Linked DNA regions of Homo sapiens: region 2 is linked to region 1. Evidence: promoter capture Hi-C in human tissues and cell types (Jung and others, 2019). All regions are on one chromosome and are shown on one strand. The core of a region is centred on a gene start or on the middle of the fragment in contact, and the rest is flanking DNA. Distances in the headings are between cores, read along the strand shown. Region 1 holds the start of HMHB1 (histocompatibility minor HB-1). Region 2 overlaps ARHGAP26 (Rho GTPase activating protein 26).

Region 1 (4,464 bases), core at 1,223-3,722:
CCTTGCATATTAGTTTTTCAATATCTTGAGTGATAAAAAATGAGGAGGATGTGAGATGTTGTGCTGGGAAGTGCACATAGGCCTCAGACTGTCCTCTCTCTGACAGCTAAGTCCTGAGTGAGCTCCTACTATGAACTGAAACGCAAAAAATGGAAAGAGCATTTGTTGGGGCCAGTGTAAGTCAACTGTTTCCATCCTTATTCCTTAACTCAAAAACTCAAATAAAGAAAGACATTGTCAATTTCATGAGCGGTCCATATTTTTTTCTATTGACGAGAGACAAAGAATAACAAATAAAAGTATTTTATAAGGATATGAGTTATAAAATTAACTTTTTGTTATCTCCAAATTGTTATTTTGCAAGGAAAAAAATATAAGTAACAAATATGAGTATTCCTTTTTTTGGATCCATATTTGGCTGGATGCAGCCTGGACAGGTGTCATGGTTATAGATTATTGTCATGTGTCTCAGTTGTGATTTCAGTATGCTTATTGCTAGTTCTTTTATTTTGCCAATGGCTACATTTTTAATAAAGAAAAAGACAAGGATAGATGAGGAAAATATAGAACATTTTTATCTTCAATGCATGTCAGTAAGAATGATGCTATGAAATTTCAGTTAATAATGAAATTGGAGCTACAAAGACCAAATCATAAATAAAATGAATTTGCAATAGTGTTACTCATAGTAACACATAAAAATATGAAAATATCATGTGCCATATTTGCCTCTGCACTGAGTTATATCTGTACTTCTGCTTCAATACTGTAATTGGCCATCTCATTTCTATTGCCTATGGAGCAAAAGTCTGAAATAAAAAAGGTATGTTCATATTTATTACTTATATTTTTTTCCTTGCAAAATGACAATCTGGAGATAAAAAAAGTTAATTTTATAATTCACATCCTTACAAAAGAATTTTATTTGTTATTCTTCCAAAGGAAATCCACATGCCATTTACTTTATCTCTCACCAATAAAAAAAAATATGGACTGCTCATGAGACTGACAATGTCTTTCTTCATTTGAGTTTCTGAGTTAAGGAAACAAGGATGGAAACAGTTGACTTATGCTGGCCCCAACAAATGCCCTTTCCATTTTTTACTTTTCAGTTCAGCTAACATTTATTGACAGCTTTTACTGTGCCAAGCACTGTGCTAGATGCCAAGGATACAGAAATGATTAAAACACAGTTCCTTCCCTCAAGAATCCCATGCTCTGATGGAGGAGGCGAACAAGTGCTTTAGGCCAAAATGTAAAACTATGAGGGCACCAAAAAGGGAGTGGTTTATTTTGCCTGGAAAGAAATAAAACCTTCATAGAAGAGGTGACATTTGAAAGGGGCCTTGAAGGAAAAAAGGGAAGGTCGGTAGTTGTCTGTATGAAACAATAAAACAGCATAAAAATTCTAAAAGAAAGTTCTGTTTGTATTCTGTGGGCTACCTGTGCAACTGGATCTGAGCATTCCCTGGGGTGGCTGAGGGGGCTGTGTGGACCAGACAGAGCACAGGCTTCCCCGGCCTCATCAGTCCAGGCTGAGTGACCTCCAGTTGCAGGAAGGAGAAAACAGCAGATCCCTTCAGTGCACGGCACCAACACCTCCTATAACGTCAACCCAGGGCTCCGTGTGTCCTCTTCAAGAGGAGAAAACAAGACAAAAAAACAAACAAACAAACAAAAAACACGACAGCAGGGCCTTTCTGCCATTTCCTGGCTCTGAAATGAGGTTAGTGAGTTAAGGAATGAAGCCATCGTGTCTTTATCTGTAAACTGGGGAAAGCTATACCCCCCTCAAGTGCTTCTGTGAGGATGAAAGAGAGAAATGCATGCAAAGCCCCCGGCACATGATCCTAAGAAGTGGGAGCATGGCGATGATGGTGATGATGGTGGCCATGCTAAGGATAAAGGACGGGTCTGGTCTCTGGGCTGCCTTGGGAAGCCTGAGCATCCCACGCGGTGGGCAAGAACAATGTGATCTTGGCTACCCTGGCTCCGACCCAGAGGGACTTCCTGCCCATCTGCACTTCCCTTGCCGTTGTCCTTGTGGCTCAGGTGGTGCAGGCAGCTGCTCCAACTGCTGCCTCTGGTGCCCTGACAGCTGCAGGCAGCCAGGCAATGGGCTATGAAACCGAACCTCAACTGGAAACTATCCGCCCTAAATAATCCCAGCAACAAGGGCCGTCTCACTCCTCTCCCCTGCCTTCCGCCATCCCTGTTTTCACCTGTTGTGGTTTCCCTCTCATTCCACCAGCATTTTCTTTCATTTTCTCTGCCCCTTCGCTGCCTCTTTCCCTCTCTCTCTGTTCTCCCTCCTCCTCGCTCCCTCACCTCTTTTTTCTTCTCTGCATTCTGGCTGCTCCTCCAGTTCTGGTTTCTCCACTGTGGTGTGGCAGAGGATGTGAGGTCAGAAGGCTCAGGGCCTGCCCGGCTTCTGAGATGCGGGGCAAGCCGCCTCGGCCTCCTGGGATGTGGTTTCCTCATCTGCAGAATTGGACCAGAATGACTCTGGAGTGTTCCTTCCGTTCTAAACTCCCGTTCTGTTACATTGTGTTGTGTTAGCCTTTGTGCCTGCTTTTCCTGCTTCAGCTGTCTCATCTGTCCACCTGCCTCTTCCATCTGCATCCCACCACTCGGGTCCAAGCTGCCAGCATCCCTTGCAAGGACCCCTAGAGCAGCCTCCTGCTATTGGAGGTCTCTCTGCTCCTGTTCTTATCCACATCCAATGTGTTATCCACACAGAATCCACAGTGACCTTATCAAAATAGAGATGAGATTGCTCACTCAGCTTAAATCCTCCAAACTCCTTTACACCCCTTTTCTATCATAGGTCCCTGTTTATGTTCTTCAGAGTAATTATTATTGCCTGAAATTATCTTTATTTACTCATGAATTTCTTAATGTTGATGTATCATTTGCTGTCTGTCTTCCACACTAGAATGCAGGCTCCAGGAGTGATGGACTTGATTGTCTCGTTTACTCCATATCCTCACTGGAGGGGCCAGCGCCTTTATTCTCTCCATAAACACTGAATGAAGGAACCTCCCTTTGCCGCAGAATCCATCTCTCCCCTTCTTGAGAGTATTCTCTCCTAACCACACCATTTCTTACTTAGAAATACCTGTGCCTGCCAGAAATCCTGCCCATCCTTCTCTGTCATTTCTGATATAATTCCCCTCATTCACTTTTCTCAGTCAGCCGGGTCCTGTGTTCCCATGGGCTATGGTAAAGAACAATGGCAATGATGAAGCTAGTTCTTCTTTCACTTTAATGTCAATCTGTGCCGTTGGATGCCTTAAGATAAAATAACTTAACAACTCTGAGACTTGAATCTAGTTAATTGTCTTACAATGCTGAGAAAGAGACTTCTTTAAGAAAATATATTAAAACTTCCAAAATTCTGTGCTTGGTTCTTGGGGAGATGTTAGGAGTAGCCATTTTCTTTAAAACACCTCTTTAAAGTAGGTAATGTTAATATGTCCATTTTACAGGTAACAAAACTGGGATTTAGAGAGTGCACAACTGGACAAGGCCATAGAGCCAGAGGTGCATGGAGCCAGGATTTGAATGGAAGAAGTGCAACGCCAGACCCAGGCACCTAGCCACCACATGGGTGACCCTAGTCACCCTCTCACTCCCTAGATTAGATTACTCTGCATTATTTTCACCATAACACTTATAAATACCTGATGCGATCATATTTCTTGTGTCTATTTGCTTCCATTATAACATAAACTCCATCCAGGCAGTTACCATATCTGACCTGTTCACTGCACTTATTCCAATACTTACAATAGTGCCTCATACATAATGGACGTTCAATAAATATTTGCTAAATGAATTAGTTATTTGCATATTGAGGATGAGATATGAAAGAAGGCCTGATAATTCTGTATATAAAACTCCATCTTAGCCAGGCACTGTGGCTCACACCTGTAATTCCCAGCACTTTGGGAGGCCAAGGCAGCAGGATCGCTTGAGCCCAGGAGTTTGAAACCAGCCTGGTCAACATAGACCTCATCCCCACACAAAAAAAAATAATAAATAAAAAATAAAAAATTAGCCAGGCACGGTGGTGCATACATGTAGCCTCAGTTACTCAGGAGGCTGAGGCCAGAGGATCAATTGAGCCCAGGAGTTTGAGGCTGCAGTAAGCCATGATCACTCCAATAATGCACCCCAACCTGGATGACAGAGAAAGACTGGGTCTGTAAAAAACAAAAACCATCTTCTTTGATGATGGAATTTTCTCAAAAGTATCTTCAGTGTTGGCATATCTTTTTCCTTTGAGAATGCATTGGCTTTTTGCAATTAGCCAAAACTGTTAAAGACTGCTTTTTTGTCAAAAAGAACATATGGTCATAAAGCATCATCACTGCTTTTCTTGCCCTGAAATTAGATCTATTTGTGGAGGTGTGGAGGTCTAACTTTCTGTGCTTTGGGAAGCTTATGCACTCTGGTAAGGCC
Region 2 (4,464 bases), core at 1,196-3,695, 620 kb after region 1:
CTCCACAGGATCAAGTAAATAGTTAAAAGAATGGAAATGGATCTACCAGAAACCAAGGGTAAGACTGCTGGCAGACAGGGAAGGCAGACATTTCTGAGTCAGAATTATCTGATGTCATAAAACGGTACAGCTCTCATTCTGGTGTTGTCACGACAGCTCCACATATGGCCACTTGTCGGCTTGCCTAAGACAGGCCTGACAAATACGATGGAAGGGGACATTCAGACATTTCATTTCTGGTTGGGAGGGAGACAGGCACATTGGGCATAAACTTGGATGAATGCCTGTGTTTCAGTATTCATTCTCAGCCACCCACTGGCATTGTTCTTGCTCCTGGCTACTGGGTGGTGGCGCCCAAACTCAGTCATGAGTGTCCCACCTTCATGACGTTTGTCACATCTGTGTATCACATGTAATTTTAATACATATTTTCTTAATATTTTCTTTAGATTGATCTCTTTAACAAATGTCTACTTTAGCCCATTGCAAATAATATCTCATTATTATTAGTATATAGAATAAAGTTCACCCAAGCACCACTTAAAGCTATTTCAGCTATCTCAGTGTCACACAGCTCACATTTTGGAAATTTCTGTTCTCGGCCACTAATCCTTTTATACCCTCTTGTAAAAGTGTGGCATATATTTTCCCAAGATCTACTTAATTATTTGGAAGAGCCAATTTAATGAATGAAAAGCATATTTGTCCACTCAAGCAAGGTGTACACAGTCATTTAATGTTTCTCTCTTAATTTTGGTATCATTTGTCTACACTACCTACAGAATAATAAAAACAACAACAGTTATCAACATTTAAGGAATGCTTTGTACTCCTGGGAGAGTTTAAAACAGCTTTATTGAGGTATAATTTATATACCATGAAATTTATCTGCCTTACTTAAGTGTACAACTTTTAGAATACTGATGGAGCTGTGCAAGCATCATCCATATTCAGTTTTATAATGCCACCATCACCCCAAAAAGGTCCTTCCTGCCATTTGCAGTTAAGCCCTGCTCCCATGCTCAGCCACAGGCAACCACTGATCTGCATTCTAACTCTAGAGATCTGCCTTTTCTAGATATTTCACAAAAGTGGAATTGCATATTGTGTGGTCTTTTGTGTCTGACATTTCATTTAGCATGTTTTCTGAAGTTCACCCATGTTCTGGCGTGTATAAGTAGTCAATTCATGTTTATTACTGAATTCTATTCCATTCTATGGACACCATGTTCTTATTGAGTAGTAAGATTTCTGCATAGATTCTGGATACAAGTTCTTTATTAGTGATAATATTTGCAAATATATTTTCCCAGTGTGTGGCTTGTCCTCTCATTTTTTCAGTGGTGTCTTTTGAAGGGCAAACATTTTTAATTTTGGTCAAGTTCAATTTGTTAATTTTTTTCTTTTTAAATTGTGCTTTTGATGTTAAATCTAAGTATTTGCCTAACCTACACATTTTCTCCTATGCTTTCTTCTAGAAATTGTCTGGGAATATCTTTATTTCACTTTCATTTGAGAAGAATAGTTTTGCTGATCATAAAATTCTTGGTGGACAGCTTTGTTTTTTCCTTAAGCACTTCGAAAATTCAATGTATATCTAGCCACCATGGCGCACAGAGCCTCCCTCTTATGTTCCTGACATGCTGCATCTGCTACTCAGGCAAACTGCAAGCACCCTGCCCCGTGCAGCACTATTCATAATATGTGCCCTTGCCTGCAATCTACTGAAGCATTTTTACTTTAAGAAGCATGTGTTGGAAGATATAAAAGAAAAATATTTAAAACTGTTTATGAGCAAATTTCCTCAAAAAGCTTCAGAAGCTGGTCCATTTGTGCCATCTGTTATAAGAGAAACTAGAAACCACCTGTCTGTCTGCCTGAGCTCTGCTCTTACCAAGGAAGCTGTAATTACCTCTTTGGTGAAGGATTTGAATCATTACAGTAAATCCTTATTCAGCACATATTGTATTAGGAAGGCATTCTGAACCCCAGAAACCAGGTCTTTTTTTTTTTTTCCCCCCCCTCCTTCTGTCCTCCAAAGATGTAGTAAAACCTTAGCTATTAGGAGCCTGGAAGAGTGAATTGTGCCTTAGCCTTGTTTACTACTCAACAATAAATATTTAATAATCAAATATTTACTTAGCACCTAGTACATGCTAGGCACAGTTGTAGGCACTGGAAACACAGCAGGTAACAAGCCAAGCAAGCCCTCTGCTCTCAGGCAGCTTACATTCAAGTTCAGTAGGCTTCAAGGTAGGGTGGGCGAGAACACAGGCTGGTGGAGGAGAAAAATATCAAAGCTCCTATTGGCATTTTAAATATCTGATTCTTATAACATTTATATTTTTTATGTTTTCTAATGTGTGTAATATAGCAATTACTAAGGCAGGTATACACTTTATAATTAAGTAAATAAAAACAAACACTTATTGGAAGTACATGCTTTTTGATAATATTTTAATTATTATCCTAATGGAAAAAATTTAGGAAATACTACTTATGAGTGTGTAAAGCAGAAAATAAACTCGTAAACAACCAAAGAAGATAATTTTAGGTGGTATTAAGAGCTATGAAATCAACTAAAATCAAGGCAGTGTGAAAGCAGGTGCCTGGGTGGGGAGGGTGTGTGGGTGTAATTTGGATTCTGTGGCTAGGGCAACTTCTTTTGGGTGACATCTGAGCCGAGATCTCAACAAAGTAGACTGCTGAGGGCTCACTGTCTTAAGCCCAAGTGCATCTTTTTTATGGTTAAACATTTAGGATTAAAACAAAGCTAACCCCCATTTCTGCCTAAGCTCCTTCACAGTCTCTTTGCTTAATCACAGAGACTTTTCCCAGAATACTATGTGAACTTAATGGAAAGGGTCCTATTTTGAAAGAACTGTGGAAAGAAGATCAGTGGTAAACATTGGCCTGTCTGTAGCAGAATTCCCAGTAGTAGCTGATAACAGCAAAACATACTTTTCCTGCAAGAAATTGTTTCTTGGTAAAGCTAAAAAGTCATTCTGTTTAGGGAAACAAATGCTTGCCTTTTCAATGAAGTCTCTGTGCACCCTTAAAAGAGTATGTCGCTTGTTCCATTTTGGAAACGGGGAACTACACAAGCCCCAAACAAACAGCCCAGGGACTTCTCTTCTTCTGTGTAACCTGCCACATCTCTAGCTATTTGCAGGATGCAACACACTGTTTGATACTACAGTTATTACACCTCCTTTTTCTAGGTTACCCTCACTTTCACTACCTGAGATGTAACAGTTCTAAAGTTCTACTCACTTTTTGTCAGTATATTTATGTTAATTCACTTGCAACGGTATTCATGGTCACAGTGGTACAAGCTCATTCAGTTCCCTTCAGAAATCATCAGTCTACACTTTCAAATATACCTACCTGAAATGTTAGTGAGGGTAAACTTTCCACAATGTCATCCCCAAAACCCCACAGCATGTCTCTGTCAGCTCTTCCTTCTTCCAACATTGTCACCCAGCCTTATCATGACAAAATGGTACTCTACTATATATACTCAAATTTTCTGTCATTCTCCCAGAAAACTATAGGAAGGAAGGGAGACTCCCCTCCGGGAAGGACTATTACAAATGACAAAATTACAAAAATGAAAGAAAATCAAATGTACTTTACAAAATGGCAAGTCCTAACATTAGCAAGAAATTGAATGACTATGGCAGGGTTGGGGCCTAAGAAGCTATATCTTCAAAATACTATTCCTGCTCTGGCCTTGTGGTTCTGATGAGCAACCAGAGATGGGAACCACTGATCTTGGTTCCTATTGTGTTCTAGGTCAGCTCTGGAAATGACTGGGAAGTGTGAATGCCCCCACGTATTGTACTTAGTAGCAAAACACTGTTGTGATTACTTTGTTCCTCTAAAACCTTTTATTTGTTTGCATGGATTTTATTATTCTTTTTGGCTCTGGAAATATGTGTAAGCTTCTTATCCACTGAATTAATAAACTTTTAGTGCTAATCTGAGATTTGGTCAAAAGAACTGTAGGGATTCTGAGAAGGGAGGGATCAGACTGGGCTGGTGTAGTTTGCGAAAGTGTCCTGTGAGATGGAATGCTCTCATTTTCCATTTTTGGGTTCAAAATCAAGGGGGCTGTGGCCTCCTTACAGCTGAGAAGGGACAATCAGTGTCAAGAGCAAAATGTTTCTCTCTGCTGAGGCAAGACATAGCAACAACACGAAGTCCTGCTTCTAAAATAACAGCTCCCAATGGATAGAGTGCACTTATGACATGCCAGGTAGGGCTGGACACTCCCCTGTCACTGACTCGTCCCAACAGTCCTGCAAGGGCAGCCCTGATTTTGCATAGGGGTAAGCTGCAGGTTGGAGGGGTTGAGTCATTTTCTAAGAGCCAGAAAGTGCTGGTGCTCCGCCTGACCTCAGGCAAACTGACGTCGGGAAACTGGGCTTTTCTGAATGCCTGTGCCACTGTTCTCCTCTGGCC

Evidence for each region. Contacts are between HindIII fragments. The study calls those that stand out against the background at their distance.
Region 2: a fragment that was not itself captured here is called in contact with the fragment with the promoter of HMHB1 in region 1 in 1 of the 25 tissues and cell types used here (dorsolateral prefrontal cortex).

What each region holds. Positions count from the first base shown.
Region 1 is chr5:143,810,169-143,814,632 of GRCh38, reverse strand. HMHB1 (histocompatibility minor HB-1) reads right to left here and starts at 2,472. Exons shown (of 2, transcript NM_021182.3): 1 at 2,329-2,472. The coding sequence starts at 2,365. The HindIII fragment of the contact is 7,714 bases long and covers 1-4,464 here.
Region 2 is chr5:143,187,587-143,192,050 of GRCh38, reverse strand. All of the region lies in intron 20 of ARHGAP26 (Rho GTPase activating protein 26), which reads right to left. Among named protein-coding and RNA genes, the nearest start is that of ARHGAP26-IT1, 2.7 kb to the left of the region's middle. The HindIII fragment of the contact is 6,015 bases long and covers 1-4,464 here.